Linked DNA regions of Homo sapiens: regions 1 and 3 are each linked to region 2. Evidence: promoter capture Hi-C in human tissues and cell types (Jung and others, 2019). All regions are on one chromosome and are shown on one strand. The core of a region is centred on a gene start or on the middle of the fragment in contact, and the rest is flanking DNA. Distances in the headings are between cores, read along the strand shown. Region 1 has its middle 8.0 kb from the start of MIR7846. Region 2 holds the start of C1orf167 (chromosome 1 open reading frame 167). Region 3 has its middle 20 kb from the start of UBIAD1.

Region 1 (3,712 bases), core at 1,115-3,614, 400 kb after region 2:
CTTTATACTCCATATACAGTCTCAGTGTATTAAAGACCTAGACATGAGATGGAAAATTATAAAGCTAATGAAAGAAAAATATAAAAAAGTATCTTCATAACCTATGAGTAGCTCTACCTATAGGTCATGATGATACTTTTCTATATTTTCTTTCATTACCCATAAGTAGGGAATTCAAATGCAATTCAAATGGCGAAACATTGATGGATTCCATTGCATTAAAATTAAGAATTTTTTTGCCAACAATAAAGGACACCATCAGCAAGGATACCAAATAGGCGACAGAGTGGAGGAAGTATTTGTGATATCTAAAAATGACAAGGGATTGATATCTAGCGCATGCAAGGAATTATTGCAAAGCTACAAGAAAAAGACAGGAAATAATAGAAATATGGTCAAAGGATGTGAATAGGCAGTTCACAGAAGGGAAAACCCAAATGACTAACAAGTAATGAAGAGGTGCTCAAACCCACGGATATTCAGAGAAATGCAAATGAAATGACACCGGGCTCCACTTCACACCCATCAGATCGGCCCAAATCAGAACATTGGCTAATCACGAGTGTGGGGGCAAGAGAGTGGTAGAAACCCTATAGTCCTGACAGTGGTGGCATCACTGGGGTGGTCATCCTGGAGAAATTCTCTCTTTTCTTTTTTAAAAACCAGCTTCTACATCAAGAACACAGTCCTGGAGAAATTTCTGGCAGTGTTAGTGAAATAGGTAAACAAATACTCCCCGATCCAGCAGTCCTACTCCAGAGAAATTCAAACACCTGCAAACGCCACCACATGTTTTATAAGGACACACTGATTGTTGGAGAGGTGCAGAGGAGGATGAGAACAGGGATTGAGGAAAAAAATCAGGCCAGAGAGGAACCTTGTACAGCAAGATCTGTGCAGTATGATTCACTCAACTCTCTGTACCTGAGGTCCAAAATATGAGAGTGAGAGAGAAGTTACGAAAAAAAAAAAAAAAAAAAAGATTCCATTCAGACCCGCCCCCAAATTTTGAAATACCTAAGGTTTATTGACAAAAAAGAGGAAGGGGGTGGGAGGAGGAGGGACCAGATGAGGGGAATCACGTTCCTCCCCAGGCCAGAGTGGCCTTGTTTGTAAAGAGGAAAAGAGGGGAACTCAGGGCCAGTGGGGAAACTGAGGCCAGAGTTCATAGGATATATGGTGGAAAGGCAGCTGTTGCTTATGTTTGAGACTTTGTCTAGAAAATTGTGGTCCACAGATGGCTCCAGCTGCTACTTGGAGAGACCAGTGAAATGGGGAGGTTTTGGTGGGGTGTGGGTTTTGGAAAGTGGGGGTTGGGGAAGGGGGACAGAGAGTGGGTTTGGAGGGGTTACGGGTTGGGAGTTAGAAGTGGAGAGACCAGGATCCTGGAAAGGGTAACACTCACTTGGCAGGGCCACGATGAGGCTGAAAGAATTGAAAAGAATTGAAAGGGAGAATTGAAAGCCCTTTGAAAATACAAAGGGCTGTAAAAGGAAACCCACTGACAAGATCAAACGCCCCCCGCCCCGCTGCAGATGTGGGGATTGGGACTCTCACACGCTGCTGGCAGGAGTGTCCAGGGTGCAGCCCCCTGAGAGGAATTTGGCAGGGCCCCGTGAAAATGAAAACATGCAAACCCACGGCCTGCCACTGCCCAGCAGTTCTACTTTCCAGGTTTAAGACCTTGAGAAACATTCAACCTTGGGCATTGGGAGACAGATGCAGGAACGCGCATCTCAGTGTGTGCAGTGGAGCCAAAGTGCAAACACCCCAAAGGCCCATTCCAGGGGAGCGGGGCAGCAAGGTGTGAGACAGGCACCGGGCAGGCGCAGCACCGAGTAGCAGCAGCAGCAGGTAGAAACAATAAGCGGATCTGAACTCATCAATATGGAAAGTTCTCAGAAACACAGCCGAGGGGAAAAAAGCAAGGGGCAGGACGGCGCACCTGGTGTTTCATCGTTTGTGTAGATGTAGACGCGTGTATCTAGAATAACACTCTACATTGGTGTGTGGAAGCAGAAAACGGACTGGTGAGAAACACCACAAACCCAGAGGAATTGCTCTTTTGGGGGCTGAATCAAGGGGACTACAACTTTGGCTGGGTGTCAAGGATTTCCATTTGAATTATAAAAGTATTTGAAGCAAAAAATAATCAACATATGTTTACTGAGAGCCTACTATTTTTTTTTAAATATCTAATTGAAGGCCGGGCGAGGTGGCTCACGCCTGTAATCCCAGCACTTTGGGAGGCCGAGGCGGGCGGATCACGAGGTCAGGAGTTCGAGACCAGCCTGACCAACATGGTGAAACTCCGTCTCTACCTAAAAATACAAAAATTAGCCAGGCGTGGTGGCACATGCCTGTAATCCCAGCTACTCAGGAGGCTGAGGCAGGAGAATGGCTTGAACCTGGCAGGCGGAGGTTGCAGTGAGCCAAGATCGCGCCATTGCTCTCCAGCCTGGGCAATAGAGAGAGACTCCGTCTCAAAAAAAAAAAAAAAAAAATTGTCCAGGCATGGTGACACATGCCTGTAATCTCAGCTACTTGGGAGGCTGAGGCATGAGAATCACTTGAACCCAGGAGGCAGAGGTTGCAGTGAGCTGAGATCACACCACTGCACTCCAGCCTGGGCAACAGAGCGGGACTCCATCTCAAAAAAAAAAAAAAATTTATGTATATATATACACACACATTTTATATATATATATTTGATATCTGTGCAGCTTCTTAGCTGCTGGGGACCCAGCAGAGAGCAAAACAAAACAGACAAGTTCCCTGCCTTCATGGGAGAAACAGATGATAAACAGATCCAAAGAGAAATTATAACAACTGCTATTAAGAAAAGTAAAGTAGCTATTTTGGTTGGGGGCGGGGGGGCGGGGGCGGGGTGCCAGGGATGCCTCTCTGAGGATGTGGCATTTGAGCAGAGACTGATAAGGGGAAGTGAGTCATGCAGGTATCTGGAGGAAAGGTGATCCAGGCAGAGGGAACTGCCAGTGCGAAGGCCTCAAGGTGGGAGAATGCTTTGTGTGTTCCAGCAAGGGCGGCCGGGCCAGCGGGCTCAGGGAGGAGTGAGGGCAACCCTGGCTGTTACCACTGGTCAGTTCTGGGTAGTGGAATATGGATTTTTTATATGATGCTTTAATTTTTTTAATTTCTAAAAAAAAAAATCTAAACAAAGATAATGTAGGGTTAAAAAGGTTACTGCTGGGAGGCTGGGTGTAGTGGGGCCTGTAATCCCAGCACTTTTGGAGGCCTAGGTGGGTGGATCACTTGAGCTCAGAAGTTTGAGACTGGCCTGGGCAACATAGTGAAACCCTTCTCTACTATTAAAAATAATAAGATAAAGTGTAACTAGAAGAAAACTTAAAAAAAAAAAAAAAGGCTGGGCATGGTGGCTCATGCCTGTAATTCCAGCACTTTGGGAGGCTACTGAAGTGGGTGGATCACTTTTGAGCTCAGGAGTTTGAGACCAGCCTGGCCAACATGGCGAAACCCCGTCTCTGCTAAAGAAAATGCAAAAAATTAGCCAGGCATGGTGGTGGGCACCTGTAATCCCAGCTACTTGGGAGGCTGAGGCAGGAGAATCGCTTGAAGCTGGGGGAGGCGGAGGTTGCAGTGAGCCAAGATCAAGCCATTTCACTCCAGCCTGGGCGACAGATCGAAACTCTGTCTCAACAACAACAACAAAAAAGGCTGGGCATGGTGGCTA
Region 2 (3,888 bases), core at 956-3,455:
AGCCTTGAACTCCTGGGCTCAAGCAATCTTACTGCCTCAGCCTCCCAAGTAGGTGGGACCACAGGTGTGCACCACCACAGCCGGATGATTTTTGTATTTTTTTTTGTAGTGATGAGGTCTTGCAATGTTGCCCAGGCTGGTCTTGAATTCCTGGGCTTATGAGAGCCTCCCACCTCAGCCTGCCCAAGTGCTGGGATTGCAGGTGTGAGCCACTGCGCCTGGCCAGCAGAAGGAGTTCATCACAGGTTTTCTGACTGAGTGCTCTTTCCTCTCCCAGCAGGTGCTTAGAAAGGAGAAAACATACAGTCTGGACAGAGGAAGGAGTGGGATGGCTGGGCACAGTGGGGAACAATGTGGGCAAAGGTTTGGGAGGTGGAAAGTGGACGGACCTTTGCAGCCTTGAAGGAAGTGTGATCGAGCTAGGCTGACGGCACGGCAAAGCTTGGGTATTAAGGTGGAGTCCAGCCAGTTTCTGAGGTGCCTGAAGGCTGGGAGAGTTTTTCTTTCTTTTTTTTCTTTTCTTTTCTTTCTTTTTTTCTTTTTTGAAACAGAATCTCACTCTGTCACCCAGGCTGGAGGGTAGTGGCATGATCACCACTCACTGCAACCTCCACCTCCCAGGTCCAAGCAATTCTCCTGCCTCAGCCTCCTGAATAGCTGGGATTACAGGTGCACACCATCACACCAGCTACTTTTTGTATTTTTAATAGAGATGGGATTTTGCCATGTTGGCCAGGCTGGTCTTGAACTCCTGACCTCAAGTGATCCGGCTGCCTCGGCCTCCCAAAGTGCTGGGATTACAGGCATGAGCCACCACATCCAGCCTTTTCTTTTCTTTTCTTTTTTTCTTTTTTTTTTTTTTTTTTTTTTGAGACAGAGTCTTGGTCTGTTGCTCAGGCTGGAGTGCAATGGCAGGATCTTGGCTCTCTGCAACCCTTGCCTCCCAGGTTCAAGTGATTCTCCTGCCTCAGCCTCCTGAGTAGCTGGGATTACAGGTGCCCGCCACCATGCCCGGCTAATTTTTGTATTTTTAGTAGAGACAGGGTTTCACCATGTTGGCCAGGCTGGTCTTGAACTCCTGATCTTGTGATCCGTCCACCTCAGCCTCCCAAAGTGCTGGGATTACAGGTGTGAGCCACTGTGCCTAGCCTTTCTTTCTTTCTTTCTTTTAACAAGAAATTTGTTATAGTTTTATTTTCCTTTGCATTTGCAAAATACTTAGGACCAACATGAAAAAGAAATACCTTCTATGGGGAAAAAAATGGCATTAAAAAGGAAGATGGGAAGGCTGAAAGGGATTTGTGCCTTAGTTGCAAGGAGCTGCAGCATCTCTGGTCCAAGGAATCAAAAAGATATTGGGAAGATATAACAGGAGGAAGAAGAATGTGAATTTACTGAGGGAGAGGGCCCCAAAGTGGGCCTTGAGGGGGAACTGGAGGCCCCGGAGTGGGTCTGGGTGGAGGGAGAGTCCCCCCCGGAAGCCATAGGGTGGGTGTTGGGGAGGGCCAGTGTATCCATGAGGCAGCATCGGTGGAGGAGGTCCACACATACCATGGAGGCATAGGACGTGAGTGACCCATGGGAGATCCAGACCGAGACCCCTTGGGGGACATGCTCATTGGAGGAGGTCCAGGATGAGGCATTCCAGGTGGTGATCAGGGTGGTGGCTGCCCCCCAGATCCTGGGGTCCCATCACGGGTGTGTCCTCAGCCATGAGGGCCATGGTTTGCCAGCTGCATCTGAGACATCCCTGGATGGGACATCGCACCTATTGGGAACGGGTGAGGATGTGAGTGTCCATGACCCGGATGTCCTGCCCCTGGGGTTCCTACCAGTGGGAGCCGGGGGCATGTCCTGCAGCCCCAAGAGGCATAGGTGGTGGGGACATGGCTGGGGGTATCCCAGATGTGCGGGGGCTCCAGGAGGCAGCTCTAGGTGCGGGAAGGAGCCAAGAGGAGGCACGCCTGGTGGAGGAAGCCCAGACCCCAGTGATGCTGCCACAGGATTCGGGGCAGAGGGTGGAGGAGGTTCCCGGGGACCTGATGGCCAAGAGAATGTCGCTCATCTTGCACGTGCAAAAGTTGCCCTGGGACCACGTGCCTTGCCTGCGGAGGACCCGGCAAAACCTGTACCAGGACGTCGGTGGCCACGCCCACGGCTCAGGGCTGGGCGGGGCCAAGCGCGGGGCAGCACGCTCTGCTCTCCGACGTCCCCTCCCGCCCGCGACCTGCCGACCTGCGGGGATCGTTAGCGGTCCCAGCCCCCGTCTAGATTCAAATCCGACTGGGTGAAGGAGGACCCGAGGAGGACCCACGCACGTGAGGGCAGATCCATGAGGGCAGGAAACTGACCTCAGACTCTTTTGGTGGCAAGAGGAGGGAGGCTGTGAGCCCCCTTAAGTGGACAGGGGTGGGGGTGGAGTGGGAGGGGGGAGTCTGAGGGAGACGGACGAGGAGCGGAGAAATGGACCGAAGAGCTCCGGCGTGAGGGGCAGGGGTGCAGGAAGGTCTCCTGTGGATTGAGCGGCCTCAAGTCAACTTGGGCAAGAGGGGATGGTGGGGTGTTCTTGGTTAGGAGTCTGCGCTGTGGAGCCAGCCCTGGGGTGCTCCCTCTGAGGCCTTGGGTGGGACAGGCCCTTCTAAGCTCCTGTCCTCATTTCTAAAACAGGGAACCTAAGTCCCAGGGCTGCAGTGCAGATTAAATGGCAGGACGCCTGCTGAAGGCTGCAAGGTGCCTAGCACGGTTGTCATTTATTCAATGTGCATTTACAAGCCCCTGCTGGGGGTCAGGCATTGTTCTATGGGCTGCAAATCCAGCAGGGAAACAAACAAACAAAAAAAACCAGCCTGCCCTCGTGTGGCTCCTAGGCCACTGGAGGGAGAAATACACTAATTTCTTCACTATGTTAGGTGGCCGCAAGTGCAGGGCAAAGAGAGTGAGGAGAGGCCAGGTTGCTGCAGTTGGAGAGACAGTGGGCAGGGAGGGCTCACTGTGATGTGGGAGGCAAGACTTGAAGGCAGAGGGGACAGCAGCACAGAGGCGCTGAGGTGAGGTCGTGTGTGCCATTTGGAGGAGCAGCCAGGGGGCTGGTGTGTGTGGAGGACAGTGGGCAAGGGGAAGAGGAATTGGGGAGGACCATAACTGGCAGCCAGATTTTAAAGACTTTGCGGGGCTGGGTGTGGTGGCTCACGCCTGTAATCCCAGCACTTTGGGAGGCCGAGGCGGGCCAATCACCTGAGGTCAGGAGTTCGAGACCATCCTGGCCATCATGGTGAAACCCTGTCTCTACCAAAAAATAGAAAAATTAGTCTGGCGTGGTGGCATGTGCCTGTGGTTCCAGCTTGTTAGAGGCTGAGGTGGGAGGATCCCTTGAGCCCAGGGAGGCAGGCGGAGGTTGCAGTGAGCCGGGATCACGCCATTGTACCAGCCTGGGTGGCAAAGTGAGACTCCGGCTCAAAAAAAAAAAAAAAAAGGTTTTGCAGCCTAAGGTATCTTGCAGCTATTGAGCTCTGCTATTGCAGCTGGAAAGCAGACAGTCTGTAAACAAATGGGCTTTGTTTCAATATAACTTTATTCACATAATAGACCACTGGCCCAGGCAGTAATTTGCTAACCTCTGGCCTACAGCCTTGAAGGCTCACGGGGCATTGAGGGGGCTGGAGAGCTTCTGTGGCATTAGAGTTGAGGCAGGGCATGATTTGATTTCAGTGTTTACAGGATCACCCTGCCGCCGCATGAAGAGGAGGCTGTCGGGCGTGAGGACGAGGCAGAATAAGGGTGACCAGTTGGGAGGTGGCAGGTGAGGGCCACTCCGCCCAGTGCTCCAGGGGTCAGATCCTGGATGCGTGTGGGAGGCAGAGCCTGTCAGAGCAGCCACTGGTGTGAGGG
Region 3 (3,816 bases), core at 1,306-3,805, 470 kb before region 2:
ATGCCTGTTATCCCAGCACTTTGGGAGGTCAAGGTGGGTGGATCACTTGAGTTCAGGAGTTCTAGGCCAGCCTGGCCAATATGGCAAAACCCTGTCTCTACAAAAATACAAAAATTAGCTGGGCGTGGTGGTGCACAACTGTAATCCCAGCGACTCGGGAGGCTGAGGCAGGAGAACTACCTGAACCCGGGAGGCAGAGATTGCAGTCAGCTAAGATCGTGCCACTGCACTCCAGCCTGGGTGACAGAGCGAGACTTCATCTCAAAAAAAAAAAAAAAAAAAGAAATATGGAATGGATGAAAAGACAATTACAGGAGCTTGCTTTCTATATGCATGTGTGTGCACGCGTGTGTGTTTGCATTGGTAACGGCTGCAGTAGAGATTTCCATTTCTCAGTGTAAGAACCACACTTTGAAGATGTTATCAACAAAGTGGATCTTGTCCTGAATGCGGTTGGCAGATGGGTGGGGGCACATAAAGCCATGTCAGCCTGGAAAGGAGAGTCACAAGAAGGCTGTCTTCGGGAAGACGGGTTGGACTTTTTTTTTTAAAACTTTTTTTTGCGTGTGGCTTCAAAGGGTAAAACTAGGACTAATGGGTAGAAGTTATATGTCCCCAAGTTGAAGCTCTTAGCTCAGGAAGGTTTCTTTCATTCTTTCTTTTTTCTTTTTTTTTTTGAGACGGAGTTTCGCTCTTGTCGCCCAGGCTGGAGTGCAATGGTGCAATCTCAGCTCGCTGCAACCTCTGCCTCCAGGGTTCAAGCGATTCTCCTGCCTCAGCCTCCTGAGTAGCTGGGATTAACAGGTGTGTGCCACCATGTCCAGCTAATTTTTGTGTTTTTAGTATAGATGGGGTTTCACCATGTTGGCCAGGCTGGTTTTGAACTCCTGACCTCAGGTGATCCACCTGCCTCGGCCTCCCAAAGTACTGGGATTACAGGCTTGAGCCACCACACCTGGCCAGATCAGGAAGGTTTCTTAGCCATTAGAGGAATCAGCGAGGGGGATGTTCAGAATGTCTCAGTTGGGGGTGAGTTCCTTGTGACTAGAGGCATTCAAGCGAAAAGATGATTCCTCGTCAGGAACATGGGTGTGAAGAGTCGCATCAGAGAGGCGTTGGATGAGAAGACCTCTAAGGGTCTTCCAATCCTGTGATTCAGTTGTTCTGTTATTACGGGATAGTCTTTCAGACCTGCCCCACGGGTTGGGAGGACAGAGTACAAGAGCCGTGTTGACATTTCTTCTTGATGTCAGACTGTTGACTGTCTGGCCATCTTAACAGGAACAGCTGTGATTGATATTCTTTTTTTAAAAGATTTTATGTATACACACACACACACACACACACACACACACACACACACACACACTCACAGAGTTGATTTCACCTCGAAAGCCCTTGAAGTGAGAGGGATGACAGCTCCTCTCTGAGCCCTGCGGACCACTCTGCTGCTAATGGACTGTCAGCCTCTTTCATTATGGGCTCCAGACTGTGCAGGCTGGTGTAAAAGGAATGCCTCTGGCAAGAACCTGGCACTTGGGTTCCAGCCAGTTGACATTTGTGACCTGCCCTTCTTCAAACTGGGACAGCCCTCCCACTGTGAGTGACTAAGCTAGGATGGCAAATGGTGGTATAAACCAAGTTGGGTTCCTGCCTGAGGAGGGGGCAAAGGCTGAGTCTGGGCTCATCAGGAGGCTTGCAAACGGCTTCCTGGGGTCAGGGAAAGGCTGTAATTGCAAGGCACAGACTCACTTCAGAAGATGCTGGAGCTCTGGGAGGAACAGTGAGGGCTTTGATCACATGCTCCCAACCAGGCTGAGTGGGGTATCACAAGTTGGTCTGGGCGCTTCTATGATGTTAAGGGATCCCAAGGGGCAGGGCTCTGTGTGGTGTGATTCAAGGGGTCCTCCAAATTCCGCACTCCCACGGTCCTGCCATATCCTGGCCCCTGTCTCCCCCAGCTTGGCTTAGAATTGCCTCCCATTAGGATCACAAATGGGTTTAACAGGGAAGACAAAAGCATAGCATGTGTTACTCACCTATTATTTTGCCAACATGTTTATTGTCAATTTCTCCCAGTAAGTGGTAGGACTAGAGTATAAGGACCATGTTTTCTTTTCCAGCCCATCTCAGCACTAGCACAGTGCATGGTGCAACAGAGCAGGCAGTCAGTAACTGGTTGTTGAATGACTGAGTTACATGGGAAGGGCTGGGCCCTCCAGGGCTGACTGACAGGTGTGAGAGTTTGGACCACTGCATCACATCAGCTGTCAGTAAGGACAGGTGAGTTCCACTTGGGGTTGGGAGTAGAGGAGAACCATGGCAGTAACTTATTATTATTATTATTTTGAGATGGAGTTTTGCTCTTGTCACCCAGGCTGGAGTGCAATGGCACGATCTCGGCTCGCTGCAACCTCTGCCTCCTGAGTTCAAGCGATTCTCCTGCCTCAGCCTCCCAAGCAGCTGGGATTACAGGCACCCACCACCATGCCCAGCTAATTTTTGTATTTGTAGTAGAAACGGGATTTCACCATGTTGGCCAGGCTGGTTTCGAACTGATCTCAGGTGATCCACCTGCCTCAGCCTCCCAAAGTGCTTGGATTACAGGCATGAGCCACTGTGCCTGGCCCCATGGCAGTACTCTTAAGAGCTTTTAAGATCCAGCTCATATTCCTGGCACGTAGAAGTCTCTAAATAAATAAACGTTGGATGACTGGCCGAGGGAATGGCAGTAATAAAGCTGTCATTTGTTGAATGCTCACTATGGACCAGGCACTGTTCTGATGCTTAAATACATTCTTTTAGTGCTCATAACAACCCCACGAATTGGATATTAAGGTCTCTTTTTCATAAGAGAGGAAACTGAGGTTCAGGGAGATTATTAAACTTGTCTAGGGTCATCTGGCTAGTAAGTGATAGAACCATGATTCAAATCTTGCTCTAATTCAGTGCAAGTTCTTTTATTATTATTATTTTTAATTAAAAAATTGAGACAGGGTCTCATTATGTTGGCCAGGCTGGTCTCAAACTCCTGGCCTCAAGCAGTCTTACCTTGGCCTCCCAAAGCGTTGGGACTACAGGTGTGAGCCACCACACCCAGCCTTCACTACAAACTGCCCCTCATCTCTCTTGCCCTGCAGTTCCTTGCTTGTAAGGGACTCAATCCATTGGTCTGCCCTTAGCCGCTCCCAAGTGTGTGAGTGTTGGGGCCAGCTATAGGCCTACAGAGGTGGCCCATGTGCCAGTGCCACAGAGGTGGTTCCCATCAGGGTGGGATGGCTGCTTCCTGGCTGGTGGCATTCCTACCAACACCCCCAGGGGCCAGCTCTGTGGGGATAGTAACTAAGCTTGTTGGTCTAACCTACTCTGGCTGGCTGGGCGAAAGTTACAAGTCAAAGTCTGCCCATCCCCAGATAATGGAGAGTGGCTCCTGCCTACCCACGATGATGGAGGCGAAGGTTCAGTCTCAGGTTAAATTTATGCTCCTGTCCCCTCATCTGTCTGTCCTCATTCGTCTCGTCTCTTCCAGTCCTCATCTAGCCACTGAAGCAGAGTGCCCACATCAGGAGCAGCCAGTGCTCAAGCTCCCAGAAACTGCCTAGTGACCTGCCTTCTAGACCTGCCTCCTGAGAATGGGGCTGGCCACCTTCGAGGAGAGGGAAGTGAGCCCCTTCCTGCCTCGGGGTGGGCAGCATCTGGAGCTGACAATTGTATGCATGTTCAGGACACAGGATACTCAACTCTTCGGGTTCAGTGTGCTGTGTGGAGGGAGAGGAAGTTGACACACGTGAACCATAGAATAAACAACGACCACAG

What was found. The method cuts DNA at HindIII sites, captures the fragments that hold promoters and counts their contacts. A contact is called where the count stands out against the background at its distance.
Region 1: a contact is called between a fragment that was not itself captured here and the fragment with the promoter of C1orf167 in region 2, in 1 of the 25 tissues and cell types used here (spleen).
Region 3: a contact is called between a fragment that was not itself captured here and the fragment with the promoter of C1orf167 in region 2, in 1 of the 25 tissues and cell types used here (mesendoderm cells).

The regions. Positions count from the first base shown.
Region 1 is chr1:12,157,041-12,160,752 of GRCh38, forward strand. No RefSeq gene overlaps it. Among named protein-coding and RNA genes, the nearest start is that of MIR7846, 8.0 kb to the right of the region's middle. The HindIII fragment of the contact is 9,635 bases long and covers 1-3,712 here.
Region 2 is chr1:11,759,988-11,763,875 of GRCh38, forward strand. It overlaps C1orf167 (chromosome 1 open reading frame 167), which reads left to right and starts at 2,206. Exons shown (of 21, transcript NM_001010881.2): 1 at 2,206-2,318. It also overlaps the pseudogene LOC101060126. The HindIII fragment of the contact is 8,265 bases long and covers 1-3,888 here.
Region 3 is chr1:11,291,344-11,295,159 of GRCh38, forward strand. It overlaps a transcript of UBIAD1 not described here. Among named protein-coding and RNA genes, the nearest start is that of UBIAD1, 20 kb to the left of the region's middle. The HindIII fragment of the contact is 6,178 bases long and covers 1-3,816 here.